Regions from separate parts of the Homo sapiens genome. Here all the other regions are linked to region 3. The links are contacts of gene promoters, found by promoter capture Hi-C in blood cells and fetal thymus (Javierre and others, 2016). All regions are on one chromosome and are shown on one strand. The core of a region is centred on a gene start or on the middle of the fragment in contact, and the rest is flanking DNA. Distances in the headings are between cores, read along the strand shown. Region 1 holds the start of PHF11 (PHD finger protein 11). Region 2 holds the start of KPNA3 (karyopherin subunit alpha 3). Region 3 holds the start of VPS36 (vacuolar protein sorting 36 homolog).

What was found. The method cuts DNA at HindIII sites, captures the fragments that hold promoters and counts their contacts. A CHiCAGO score of 5 or more calls a contact.
Region 1: the fragment with the promoter of PHF11 here is called in contact with the fragment with the promoter of VPS36 in region 3 in 1 of 17 cell types (fetal thymus); the score reaches 10.0 in fetal thymus.
Region 2: a contact is called between the fragment with the promoter of KPNA3 here and the fragment with the promoter of VPS36 in region 3, in 2 of 17 cell types (neutrophils and fetal thymus). The highest score is 6.6, in neutrophils.

The regions. Positions count from the first base shown.
Region 1 is chr13:49,492,674-49,497,204 of GRCh38, forward strand. PHF11 (PHD finger protein 11) reads left to right here and starts at 3,280. Exons shown (of 10, transcript NM_001040443.3): 1 at 3,280-3,422. The coding sequence starts at 3,329. All of the region lies in intron 12 of SETDB2-PHF11 (SETDB2-PHF11 readthrough), which reads left to right. It overlaps SETDB2 (SET domain bifurcated histone lysine methyltransferase 2), which reads left to right. Exons shown (of 14, transcript NM_001160308.3): 14 at 1-2,330. RefSeq lists enhancers at 2,086-2,771, 3,082-3,321, 3,812-3,861 and a silencer at 3,342-3,621. The HindIII fragment of the contact is 2,314 bases long and covers 1,811-4,124 here.
Region 2 is chr13:49,790,774-49,795,202 of GRCh38, forward strand. KPNA3 (karyopherin subunit alpha 3) reads right to left here and starts at 1,909. Exons shown (of 17, transcript NM_002267.4): 1 at 1,665-1,909. The coding sequence starts at 1,733. RefSeq lists enhancers at 424-943, 948-1,609, 1,610-2,271, 2,075-2,204 and silencers at 1,065-1,634, 1,755-2,004. The HindIII fragment of the contact is 6,989 bases long and covers 1-4,429 here.
Region 3 is chr13:52,448,859-52,452,804 of GRCh38, forward strand. It overlaps VPS36 (vacuolar protein sorting 36 homolog), which reads right to left and starts at 1,776. Exons shown (of 14, transcript NM_016075.4): 1 at 1,641-1,776. The coding sequence starts at 1,736. RefSeq lists an enhancer at 1,362-1,942 and silencers at 1,463-1,922, 1,963-2,022. The HindIII fragment of the contact is 2,912 bases long and covers 1,157-3,946 here.

The sequences.
Region 1 (4,531 bases), core at 2,030-4,529, 3.0 Mb before region 3:
GAAGTCCAGGTATGGTGGCTCAGACCTGTAATCCCAGCACTTTGAGAGGCCGAGGCAGGTGGATTACTTGAGCCTAGGGGTTCAAGACCAGCTTGGGCAACATGTCAAAACCCTGTCTCTACAAAAAATACAAAAATTAGCCTGGCATGATGGCATGTGCCCGTAGTCTCAGCTACTCAGGAGTGAGGTGGGAGGATCATTTGAGCTCAGAAGGTCAAGGCTGCAATGAGACATAATTTCACCATAGTACTTCCAGCCTGGGCAATAGAGCAAGACTCTCTCTCAAAAAAAACAGCACACACACACACACACGAAAACAATTCTGAACTATGAAATCTGAAACAGCCCCTTGGTATCTCCTGGGCATGATTTGCAAATCTTTTTTTTTTACAGAAAAAAGGCAAAGAGTAAGCACTTTGCCATAGGTTACTTGGCCGTGATCATCTATCTAGTGGAAAAGGGGACTGGGAAGCCCAAGCAGACTGGGAAACCAGACAGCTAGGAAAAGGAGCAAAACATAGCCCAGCAACCTACAGATGAAGAAAGTTGAGAAATCCATTTATTCACCATAGAGACGCAGGAATTTCAGGCAATGCACTAAAATGAAATGGGGGAAAAAAGCTTGATCAGTATGGGAACCATTTTTGTGCAAAAGGGAATATTATGGATCAGCCAGTATTTCTTTGAGCTCTGCCTGTGGAGTCCATTTGACCTTTAGAAATATGAGGTATTCTGTCAGTTTTATCTTCTTGGAGAAATTTCTCCTAAAATCTTGATTTGCTTTAGTCTGGACTGGTTCATAGCCATCATCTTCCATCAGTACCCCAGAGATTCACTTTGTCTCTTATGTGGGATCTGTTTCCAGTTAGATGCCATTATTTTCCTTTTCCTTGGTTTACTCTTCCACATATTGGTAAAGCTCTTCCAATAGCTTTTGGAAAGGAAAAATGAAAAGTAAATGTTTTGAATCTCTGTGTGTTTGACAATGTCTTTATTTTACCCTTATACCTGATTGCTGTTTTGGTTGGCAAGGTATAGGATTCTTTAGTGGTCTCCATGCCCAGTTTTGAAGACATCTGCTAGCTTTCAGTGCTGTTGCTGTGGAGTCTGAAAATCTGTCTTCTGGCTTCCAGGGTGACTACTGGAAATTGAATGCCATTCTGTTCCTTCTCTTTTGCATATATAATCCATTTTTATCTCTCTTGAAGCTTATAGGTTTATCTTTGTCTCAATGTTCTGTCCCTGTTAAGAGTCCATTTTCATCCTTTGTACTAGGTGCCTGGTGGGATCATTCCGTCTGAAACTAATGATTTCCCATCTCTTCACTGTTTCTGGAATTCCTGTTTTCCAGATGTTAGACCTCCAGAATTTGATCTCTAATTTTCCTATCTTTTCTCTTAACTTTCAGCTCTGTCTTCTTGCTAGGACCTTTTCCTAGGAGCATTTCTCAATTTAATCTTCCAGTTCATCTGTTGCATTTTATTTTTCTAGTCTCATATTGTCTCATATTTTTAATTTCTAAGAGCTCCCCTTCTCCGAATATTCTTTTTTTTTAATAGCATCCTATTTTGGCTCATGGTTGCAGTATTTTATCTCCTTGAAGATGTTTGTGTGTTTATGTATGTATATGCACACACGTATACATACACATACAGGCATGCATCTCTGTATTCTTTCGGCATAATCTGTGTCCTCCAGGGTTTGTTTCTTTGTTTCCCCTGTATGTTTGTTTTGGTCGTTCACATTATAGGCTTTCCTCAGAGTTAATGGTCTTGGTAGTCTACTCATATTTAAGTGTGGAACACCAAAAAGCTTACTATAAGCTGAGAGTGTGGTAAAGGGCTCTTTGTTTTACTATGACCTACCTGAGCTATCTTGCTGGGGAACACCCTAATGTCAGTCTCTTTATAAAGGGCCTTTCATTTTGGCCTGGCAAGAAATACTCTTTCATCCTCCTGCATGGAGGGCAAAAAAAAATTTAAAAATTGGCTGCTAGGGTCTGTCTGCTCACTTCCCTGTTTTGCAGACCCCACACTCTTCTGCAATTCATTTCATAGTTGTCAAGACTATACAAATTGTCCTTTTTAATGTTCTCTCTTCTGCTATCCCTAGTTGGCAGTCTTCCTCTTTACAACCTGCTGAAAGTGGAAGACCTCCAGTTTTCCTTTAATTCCTCAGCAAACCACCAACTATTATATGTCTTTTTTCCAGAACAACTTATTTTTTAACTATAATTATATGCATTTATGTTAGATTCACTGAAAACCTCATCTTGTATGGTGCTCTGTACCCTATGGGTGCTAAATAAAGGCTTGCTACTGGCAACTGGATTTAGGATCGGCTAATTCTGCGTCCTTTTAAGATATGCTTATTTAAGCCAAACTCGGTATGATAATTTTTTTTTTTTTTTTTTTTTTTTTGAGAGGGAGTCTGGCTCTGTCGCCTAGGCAGGAGTGCAGTGGCGCGATCTTGGCTCACTGCAACCCCCGCCTCCCGGGTTCAAGCGATTCTCCTGCCTCAGACTCCCGAGTAGCTGGGATTACAGGCGCCCGCCACCAAGCCCGGCTAATTTTTGTATTTTTAGTAGAGACGGGGTTTCACCATGTTGACCAGGCTGGTCTCGAACTCCTGACCTCGTGATTCGCCCACCTCGGCCTCCCAAAGTCCTGGAACTACAGGCGTGAGCCACCGCGCCCACCCGGCCAGTATGATAGTTTTTAGGAGGAACCCTCAGGAGAGTGATTGTTTCTCCCGCTGTGTTGTGGGGGGTGGAGTAGGGAAGCCTGGCGTTTGGGGTTTTTTTGTTTGTTTGTTTTTTGTGTGTGTTTGTTTGTTTGTTTGTTTTGAGACGGAGTCCCGCTCTGTAGCCCAGGCTGGAGTGTAGTGGCGCGATCTCGGCTCACTGCAAGCCCCGCCTCCCGATTCAAGCGATTCTCATGCCTCAGTGTCTGGAGTAGCTGGGATTACAGGCACCCGCCACCATGCCCAGCTAATTTTTGTATTTTTAGTAGAGACGGGGTTTCACCATGTTGGTTAGGCTGGTGTTGAACTCCTGACCTCGTGATCCGCCCTCCTCGGCCTCCCAAAGTGCTGGGATTACAGGCGTGAGCCACTGCTCCCGGCGTTTGGGTTTTTTAAGCTATTCAAATTAAGACTAGACTGGAATCTGGAGCAGTGTGTGTGACAACCCCTCTCTGCACACCCAACTTTCCCCGGGCCGGCTAGTGACTCAAAGCGACAGCCCAGATTTAAGAAAACGAAACCTAGTGCAGCTGGGGCACTTCCGGGATCTCGCTATCCGGCCGCCACCCGCAGCTGCAGCACAGTCATGGCCCAGGCGTCGCCGCCCCGGCCCGAGAGGGTGCTCGGCGCCAGCAGCCCGGAGGCCCGGCCCGCGCAGGAGGCGCTCCTCCTTCCCACCGGTGTGTACCGCGGGGGCGGGCGGGCGGGCGGGCGGGGCTGGGCAGCGACGGGCCCGGTCAAGGGGCCTGCCTTCCGGTCGTGGCCGCATGGGGGCCCGACCTGCCCCTACTCCGGGCCGGGGCCCTAGACGCCGGGGCGGCGCTGGACGAACTTGGCTCACCACTCGCGTGCCTGTTGGTGGGGGAGGGGGCCAGAGGACAGGGCGCGGCCCAGGCCAGTTCCACAGGTGGCTCTGACTGCCCATGGTTTCGCGCGAGTGGTGGGCACGCTTCGGTTTACCTCCCCCGCGGGTGACAGCCCAGTGCTTCCACCACAACCGATGTCAACTCTCCTAGCGCCCCTCCGCTCACCGGTAAACCAGGACAGTGGAGGGGCGCCCTGATGCGGTGAGGCAGGGGGCGGCCCTGAGGGAAGAGCTGGGTCTCACGTTCACGGAGGACGTGACTGGAACCCGTCTCCCCTTCTCCAGTCGTTCCAGTCCTCCCCGGCCCTCTACTTGAGTGGGTGGGTCTTCTGATGGGTTCCTGCCCTTGCGTGTGTGTATAGCTCCAAACGGTGTGCCAGGCTCAGGGCAAGGTCCTGAGCATACAAAGATGAGTTAGGCAGACCCTGCCCTAGAGACTCTACTAGGCAACTTTAATGAGGAGGTCAGAACCACAGAGGTACAGATGAGAGACTCCTGACTCCCAGTCTTCAGGGAAAGCTTTTTGAGGAGAGGATGGCTGGGCTTACCCTTTTTTTTTTTTTTTTTTTTTGAGAGGAGTTTCACTCTTGTTGCCCAGGCTGGAGTGCAAAGGCGCTATCTCGGCCCACTGCAACCTCTGCCTCCCGGGTTCAAGCGATTCTCCTGCCTCAGCCTCCCGAGTGGATGGGATTACAGGCATGTGCCACCACGCCCAGCTAATTTTGTATTTTTAGTAGAGAGGGTTTCTCCATGTTTCATGGGCTTACCTTTAAAGGGCAAGACTCAGCCAAAGGTGGAAAAGTTGAAGGGGTGTTCCCAGCAGAGAGGATGACACAAAGGCACCAAACCACAAAACGTCACACGTAAACATCATACGTGGCAACCACAAGCCAATCAGTTGGATATTTCATTCATTGGTATACA
Region 2 (4,429 bases), core at 659-3,158, 2.7 Mb before region 3:
TACCAGAACACAATAGAGGTAAACAATGAAACAAAAACCTGTACCAATATCCGAGAGAAGAATGTTACTGGTTTTTCTGTACAAACAATGAGTATTTTTCAATAAATTTTTATTTGGAACAGGATAGGCTTCAAGAAAAATTCCTAATGGGAAAAGTTCAAAATTAACACTTGTCATCAAGTGGACCAATAACAGGAGGCAGTTCCAAAATTTCTTGTTCCTATTCCCAAGTTTTACTTTCGCTTAGATGTATTTCTTACAAAGGGTATTTAACCATGACCAGGAAAGAATATATGATCTTTATTTGACTCATTTAAATGGGAATTCCACGGATATCTCCCTAGGTTCTTTCCTACTAGTATTTAATTTTGTAGCTCTGAAAAACGGCCTGAGTTTGTCTGTTTCTCTACAAAATAGAACACTGAATGGTATATTTACCCCACAACCTTCCTTAAGACAGGATAAAACACACCTCTTAATCACACTAGCTTATCAAAAATTACAAAACTGCAAATCATGTCGCCTAGTATTAGCAAAGAAGGCTGCGGCCTTAAAACCATTTTCCCCCTAACAAATCCAAAGGTCACGGTCCCAGTGAAGTTTGTGCATTATACTTACTGTTTTCAGTAGCTGCAGAGAGACCTCTAGCGCTGCCTCAATAAGCCGAGTTTGCAAATAGTACCTGCTAATGTCACCTTAATGAGACAATGGCAACATGCTGAGTAGCAACTAACTGAGTGACCGCGATGAATGTTTAGTTTTGCAACCACTTGGAAATTCTACTAGCTTGGAGCAAGAGGTATGTAAGAGAATTATGAACCTGTGTATCCAATTTATTTTAGTAAAACGTGTCAAAGAAATTATCACCCTATGCACACCCCACTCCAAGAAAGGCTAAGAAAACAAGTCCTATGAGCGGAGGTCGGAGCAACCTCTTTTCCGAAGCCTGAACACAATAGATGGCAAACTATTGTCCACCTTCAGCTCGCTCCAAATGCCAGCAGTTGCAGGAGTATGAGCTGCAACAGCTCGGCACGACTAGTCCAAAGACGAGCACTGGAATATAAGAAAATGGTCCTGGCGCATCCTACCCTCCCCCATCGATCACCCTCAAACAAGTCAGTTACCCGGCTGGTCCCCACCCCCCTCTGCGGGCCGCCACCGCCCGCCTGGGCCCGGCTCGCAGAAGGTAGGAGCCCGGACCGGCAGAGCCGAGGCTCCATGTGAGCCGCGCGGGAGGCGCAGAGGGGGCTGCACCGGACGGAAGGTTGCACCGGTGGCGGGCGCAAGCAGCGGCCGCCCCCTCGGCTGTGCGGTCGGAGGGCCCGGGCGGCAGCATCCCCGTTCATCCGGGCGGCCCTGGCCCGCGGACCCCGCCTCAGCTCCACATCCCCTCCTCGCCGACACCAGGCCGCGCCCGCGTGACGGGGCCGAAAACGCCGGCATTTCCCGGTCGCCGCGCCGGCAGCTCCGGGGGGTGACTGCAGCCCGGCCGGCGTCTCGCCGCCCGCTCCGCCCAGCCCGGGGCCGCGGTGACGGGAGGCGGCGGCCAACTCCGGCCGACCACAAGCCGACGAGAACCAGCCCGGCGCCGGCCCCCCGCCCCTCCCCGCGTCGCCGGGCCGGCGCGGCCAGGCGGGCCCAGACCGCGGAAGCACACTCACTTCCACATCGCGGCCCTTGTTCTTGAAGCTCTTGATGCGGTGGTTCTCCAAGCTGGGGTTCTCGGCCATGGCTGCGCGCGGCTCCGGCGGCGGCTACTCCTGCGGCTGCGGCGGCGGCGGCGGCGAATCTTGGAGCGGGAGGGGGAGGAGGGGGAGAGCGGGAGGGGGGAGGGGAGAGAAGAGCACGTTCTGTGACGCCTCCGAGCGCGAGGTGGCAGTAGCGCCGGGGGAGGCGCGGGCCGACTGCCGGGCCGGGTGGGGCGGGAACGGTGCTGAGAGCGGCGCGCGGCCGCGGAGGCTGGCGACACGTGACCGGGGGCGGTGACCGGCTTGGGCGTTCGCCGGGCTATACGTGCCCGTTGGTTCTCGGGATGACCCTGCCCTCTTCCCCTGCAAGGGCTCTCCACAACCCCTCGGTGCTGCAAGTTTTGTGCCAGAAATGGAGCCGGACCTGGCGACTTTTACTGCCCCTCAGGCGCGGGGCGGCGGTCGTCAACTACAGTTCCCATCATGCCACGATCCGCCTGGAGTAATTCTCCACGCCTAGTGAGAACGAGGAGAATGCCGGGACCCTTCCGCGCGCGGCTCTTTGCGCGCCGCGCTCATGTTGCTGGGCACAAAGCTCCGCCCCCACAAGGCCGCCTCTGGGCGGGGAAGAGCGGGGGAGCGTCCCTGGCACCTTGCGCCCTATCAGGAGGAAGAGGGCGGGCCTTCCTGGGAGCGCACCTCGCTGCCTGTAGCTAGAAGATCAGAAAAGGAACAACCGCGAGTGCTTTGCAGTCTCGCTTTTTTGGGGGTCTTCTCAAATAGCCACCTTCATTCGCTCTTCCCATGCTCTGCTTCAGTTTTATAAATAGCATTTCTACCTGACATGTACATGTGTATGTATGTGATACGAGTGTTTATATGCGTTACCTAGGTGCCCGCGCGGAAATTCAGCTCAATGAGAGCAGGTACTTTGGTTGAATTACTGCTGAATCTCTAGTGTCAAAACAATGCCTACCACGTCGTAGATACGCAATACTTGTTGAACTGGCGCTTTAGTGTCGCCCAGTTTCTTCATCATCCTTCCAAGCCCGGTTCTGCAACCTTCACTCTGGCAGTCCCTGTATTTACATGCCCCCCAACACTTCTTGTTCTACCACCACACAGAATCTTAGCCTTCAGGCAGCAGCCCAGCCCTGGTCCGCAGACTCTCCTGTGTAGCACTCCCACTCCCTCTGGGGGCATCGAAAGAATGAAAGAGGGAAATTTGGATGGATTACACTGATAAAGAGCTGCTTTCGGCCGGGTGTGGTGGCTCACGCCTGTAATCCCAGCACTTTGGGAGGCCGAGGAGGGCAGATCACAAGGTCAAGAGACCGAGACCAGTCTGGCCAACCATGGCCCGCATGGTGAAACCCCTTCTTTACTAAATATACAAAAATTAGCTGGGCGTGGTGGCGCATGCCTGGAGGCTGAGGCAGGAGAATCGCTTGAACCCGGTAGGCGGAGGTTGCAGCGAGCCGAGATGGCGCCACTGCACTCCAGCCTGGCGACAGAGGGAGACTCTGTCTCAAACAAAACAACAAAAACAACAACAACAAAAACAAAAAGCTACTTTCTGGAGCAGGTGGGCTTCATTTGCTTGTATGTTAATTTTCAGAATCTATGGTAGACATGAGCAGGTATGTAATGTTGTAGTACTTATAATTGAACTGAGGTCAAAAGTTGGTAGGACTATACCATGAAGAGATCAAAAAGGACAATCTTTAAAGCGAAAGGGCCTTGGCTGGGCGCGGTGGCTCATGCCTGTAATCCCAGCACTTTGGGAGGTCGAGGTGGGTGGATCACAAGGTCAGGAGGTCGAGACCAGCCTGGCCAACATGGTGAAACCCCACCTCTACTAAAAAAAATACAAAAATTAGACGGGCATATGGCGCATACCTGTAATCTCAGCTACTTGGGAGCCTGAGGCAGGAGAATTGCTTGAACCTGGGAGGCGGAGGTTGCAGTGAGCTGAGATCGTGTCACTGCACTCCAGCCTAGGCGACAGAGTGAGACTCCATCCCCAAAAAATAAAAATAAAAAATTCAAACAACCCAACAAAAACATGCAAAGGACACTGATCACAGAAAAAGAATAAATATATGAGGAGATACAGAAAAAAAAAAAAAAAAAAAAGCGAAAGGGCCTTAAAGAACCTGAGGCCCAGAAGTCAGGAATTCAGAAGCCTTTGGTGGCCAAGCTATGTCCAGGGGCATTCGTCTTGTGAGTGGTGGGGTGTGGCCTATTGATAAACACAGGCTTCAGATCCTCTGGTCATACTGGACTGTGGCCCAGTGTTGCCAGAAGATTCCACTTTTCAAGGAAAACCAAAAAGGTAGATTCTTTTTCTCTTTATTTTTAAATGTTAATTCACATTTTGTTAATGGACTTAAGCATTTCAGTCACTTCAGAATATCAGGTCCTCAGTTTGCAACACCTGATCTTAGTCTAACCACTCATTTGAAGGGAAACACACACACACACACCAGCTATGAATTTAGAAGGAATACATTAGGCAGGGCACAGTGGCTCATGCCTGTAATCCCAGCACTTTGGGAGGCTGAGGTGGGAGGATCACCTGAGGTCAGGAGTTTGAGACCAGTCTGGCCAACCATGGCCCACATAGTGAAACCCTTTCTCTACAAAAATACAAAAATTAGGCAGGCATGGTGGTGCATGCCTGTAGTCACAGGTGCTCAGGAAGCTGAGGCAGGAGAATCGCTTGAACCTGGGAGGCG
Region 3 (3,946 bases), core at 526-3,025:
AGATCTAACACTGTCAACATTCGGTTCCTCTCAAAGGGGAGGCAAAATCAAAACACCGAGGAAGGGGAGGTGGATTAACCTTCCCATTTTAAATAGTCACAAAGATGTAAATTGGTAAGAAAGGAGAAAAAAATAGCTTGTCACTCCAATCCGGGGATGGAAGACTCATCTTGAGATCAAGATAGTTAAAGTGCCAAGGCAGGCTGGGCACAGTGGCTCAAGAGCCTGTAATCCCAGCTGTTTGGGAGGCCCAGGCGGGCGGATCATTTGAGGTCAGGAGTTAGAGACCAGCCTGGCCAATGTGGTGAAACCCCGTCTCTACTAAATATGCAAAAATTAGCCGGGCATGGTTGCAGGCGCCTGTAATCCCAGTTACTCAGGAGGCTGAGGCAGGATCTTGAATCTGGGAGGCGGAGGTTGCAGTGAGCCCAGATCGCGCCACTGCACTCCAGCCTGGCGATAGAGCGAGACTCTGTCTCAAAATAAATAAATTAATTAATTAAATTAAGAAGTGCTAAGGCAGTAAGTGAAGTTAGGTCCAAGCAAATTATTTAAGGAAAAGACCTTTACTCACTAATACAGGCAACACAGCCCATAGAAAATGCCCTAAGAGAGTCAGAGGACCTGGGTCCAATGTCACCTGTGCCTCTAAATAGCTGTAAGCACTTACCAGGAAAAGCTGAGTTGAGGAACTTATATCAAAGTACAGCGGAAAGTGTCGTTAATAAAACGGCAAGGGAAGAGAGGTAGCAAATTAAAACTTCTGGAAACCAAAAATGCTTGTGGGTAAATGAGTTTTAAAATTTTTCTAATTCCAGTTTATCCATTTCAATCCAGGACAAGATATTTCATAGTTTCAGTAAAGTATCTACAAAATATTTACTTACACTTCCTATTTCTCCTCTCGATTTGCAAACGCACCTTCTAAGATTTATGCTTGCACTACAAGGCACGGTCTACTATTAATATAACACTTTACAAAACACGCTCAGAACGCCTTTCTAAAGCAATTAGAAAACAAAACAAAAACCCAATAGCCTTTGGCAAGGGCATTCCAATGAAGCACTGATACCTCTTTAGGAAATCCTTTCGAAGCAATCCCTCACCCCTCTGCCCAGATATGCTAATCCCTCCGACTGCATAAGGTCCAAGCTAAAGCTTCCGCTGGGGCACGGACTGTACGGCCACCGCGCCCTCCTCACAGAAAGGCGAAACGGGGCTGTCCGGTGCCGACGCCGAGGTTGGTGTCGTCAGGGGGTCTGGAACCACGCCAAGGAAGTCGACTGCCGGATCGCCGCCCGGCGCCCGCAGACGGCGAGCGCTCCTTCTCCCGGGCACTGCAGCTGTGCGCTCCCGGAAGCATTCCGGGCGGAGGGAAGCGGCCGCGATCCGCGCCTGCTGGGAACCGTGCCAAAGTTGGGACCCGCGCTGGGGAGGCAGCCGAGCGCCCCACGCCACGTGCTACCGACCGGCGGGGAGCGCAAGAGCGCTGCACCCCGCACAGAGGCCTGCCGGGCCGCCGAGGGCCGTGAGCTAAGCCGGGGACCGGGCCGCGCCGACCCGGGCCGCGCTGAGCCGGGCCGCGCGCCCACCGGGGGTCCCTTCCGCCAGCCCGTTGGGAAGGTTGGCAGACGCCCTACCTTCTCCTCGCCATCGTAGATTCGCACCCCGCGCTGCTGGATCACCAGGGTCTCGTTGATCTCCAGGAGGCCGCTGGTCCAAACGAAGCGGTCCATGGCCGCTGCCACCCAGCCCCGGCCCTCCGAGGCCGCGAGCAGCGCGCCAGGCAGCCTGCGGCGCCCCCTAGCGTCGGACGGGACGGAAGCGAGTCGGGGCGGGTGAGGGACGGAGGGAGCGGCCTGGCAGCGAGCGGGCGCGGCTGCGAGGTGCGCCCGGGGACGTGGAGACGTGCGTGGAGCGCCCCCTGGCGGTCCATTAGCCGCCGGCCTTTCAGAACCCTTGATCAGCAGGCGGTCCACCCCATTCTAAATTCAGAGCTTACAGGGACGCGAGGGAGCCCCGACCACAGCTTGGACTTGCTTATTGTGCATTATGCCTGCATGTTTGTGGCAGTTTTCTTGTCAGTGCCCAGAATGTTGCTACATTCGCTAATGATTGTAAATAATCATAACCCCTCTCTTTCAAATGAATATTTATGGCACGCATTGTTTCTGTACAGCTGCAGTCAGTACTACCTGTGCTGCTCTTTTTTTCCCTTTAAGATTATATTGTAACACAAAGGATAAATGCTTGAGGTAACGGATACCTCATTTACCCTGATGTGATTATTATACAGTGTATGCCTGTATCAAAATATCCCATATACCCCAGAAATATATACACCTATGTACCCACACAAATTAATTTTTTTTTAACTGGGGGAAACAGATTTTATTTAACCGGGCTTGATGCGCGCGCCTGTATTCCCAGCTGCTTCCGAAGCTGAGGCGGGAGGATTGCTTGAACCCAGGAGTTTGACACCAGTGGGCGACATAGAAAGACCCTTTCCCCCTCCACCCCAACTCCCCCACGCCACTCCACTCCCCCACCCCCAGGCTCAGAAAAAAAAGATTATTTTTATTTAGGCATTTTCAATATTAATACAGACCTCATGCGTGAATTTACATTTCAATATGTAGTTCCTCTATAATTTAGCTGTTTGTTGGTCTGCGCAAAGCCATCCATGGCCGCTGCTCTCACCCACCAGGCGGCCTCGTGCCCCTAGCCATTTCATTTTTGTATTTTGCTTTATAAATGGAACACCTGGCCGGGCGCGGTGGCTCACGTTTGTAATCCCAGCACTTTGGGAGGACAAGGCGGGCGGATCACAAGTCAGGAGTTCGAGACCAGCCTGGCTAACATAGAGAAACCCTGTCTCTACTAAAAATACAAAAAATTAGCCCGGCGTGGTGGCGGGTGCCTGTAATCCCAGCTACTCGGGAAGCTGAGGCAAGAGAATCGCTTGAACCCTGGAGGTAGAGGTTGCAGTGAGCCGAGATCGCACCATTGCACTCCAGTCTGAGCGACAGAACGAGACTCTGCTTCAAAAATAATAATAATAAATAATAAATAAATAAATAAATGGAGCAGCTTATAGATGTCCTTCTACAATTGATACATATTTTTCTCTTTAGGATTATTTTCTTACAGTGTCTTCCTAAAATAGAATGACTGCTTTAAAGGTTGTGAACACATTTTAGAGAGCCTACCACTTATTGGGGTCTTAACTAAGGCTGCGTGCCCACGTGGGCAGAGGGGCACAGGGGCAGAGGGACAGAGGGCAGGCTTGCTCTCTGCCCCCAGGGCTCCACATTTCCCCCAGTCGTGGAGTCAGTGGTCTGTGGCTAGGCATTAAAAGAAAGGAAAGGCTCTTTCCAATGAGTATAAGCCATCTCTCCCCCGAAATGAATTGCTACTTTTACCGTGTTCCAAAATCCTGTGTGTATTTTGGTCTATTTCTAAACAGTGTCTTCTGTATTTCATATCTTTCAATTTCCATCATGACCATATACCCAATAACCAAAAGTTCTTTGAAAACATTTGATTTGCTGTAATATGCTATCAATATATATCACAATTTACCATCATTGCCTGATTTTTGAGCATTTGATTGTTTACCAACTTTTTAGTCTTTTTTAATTGAAAGTAATGTGACCTAAGCATCCTAATCAGATGTGGAACTGTGCAGTTATGCCTGGGCTTTGCAATTATCAACATGTTAGGCAGTGAGGACATTTGCAAGGTATGTTTTCTGCCCTTGAGGGATGTACAGTCTGTAGGACACAAATAGAAGCCTGGCATATGATAGCTGCTGGGATAGACAACCGTATAAGGGTTTCCTGTATCCAGGCTGGAGCAAGGAGAAACGTCATGTGGCTTATATATGGCAATAAATGAATAGACAAAAGGTTTTAATTTTTATGAAGTTCAGTGTATTTTTTTCTTT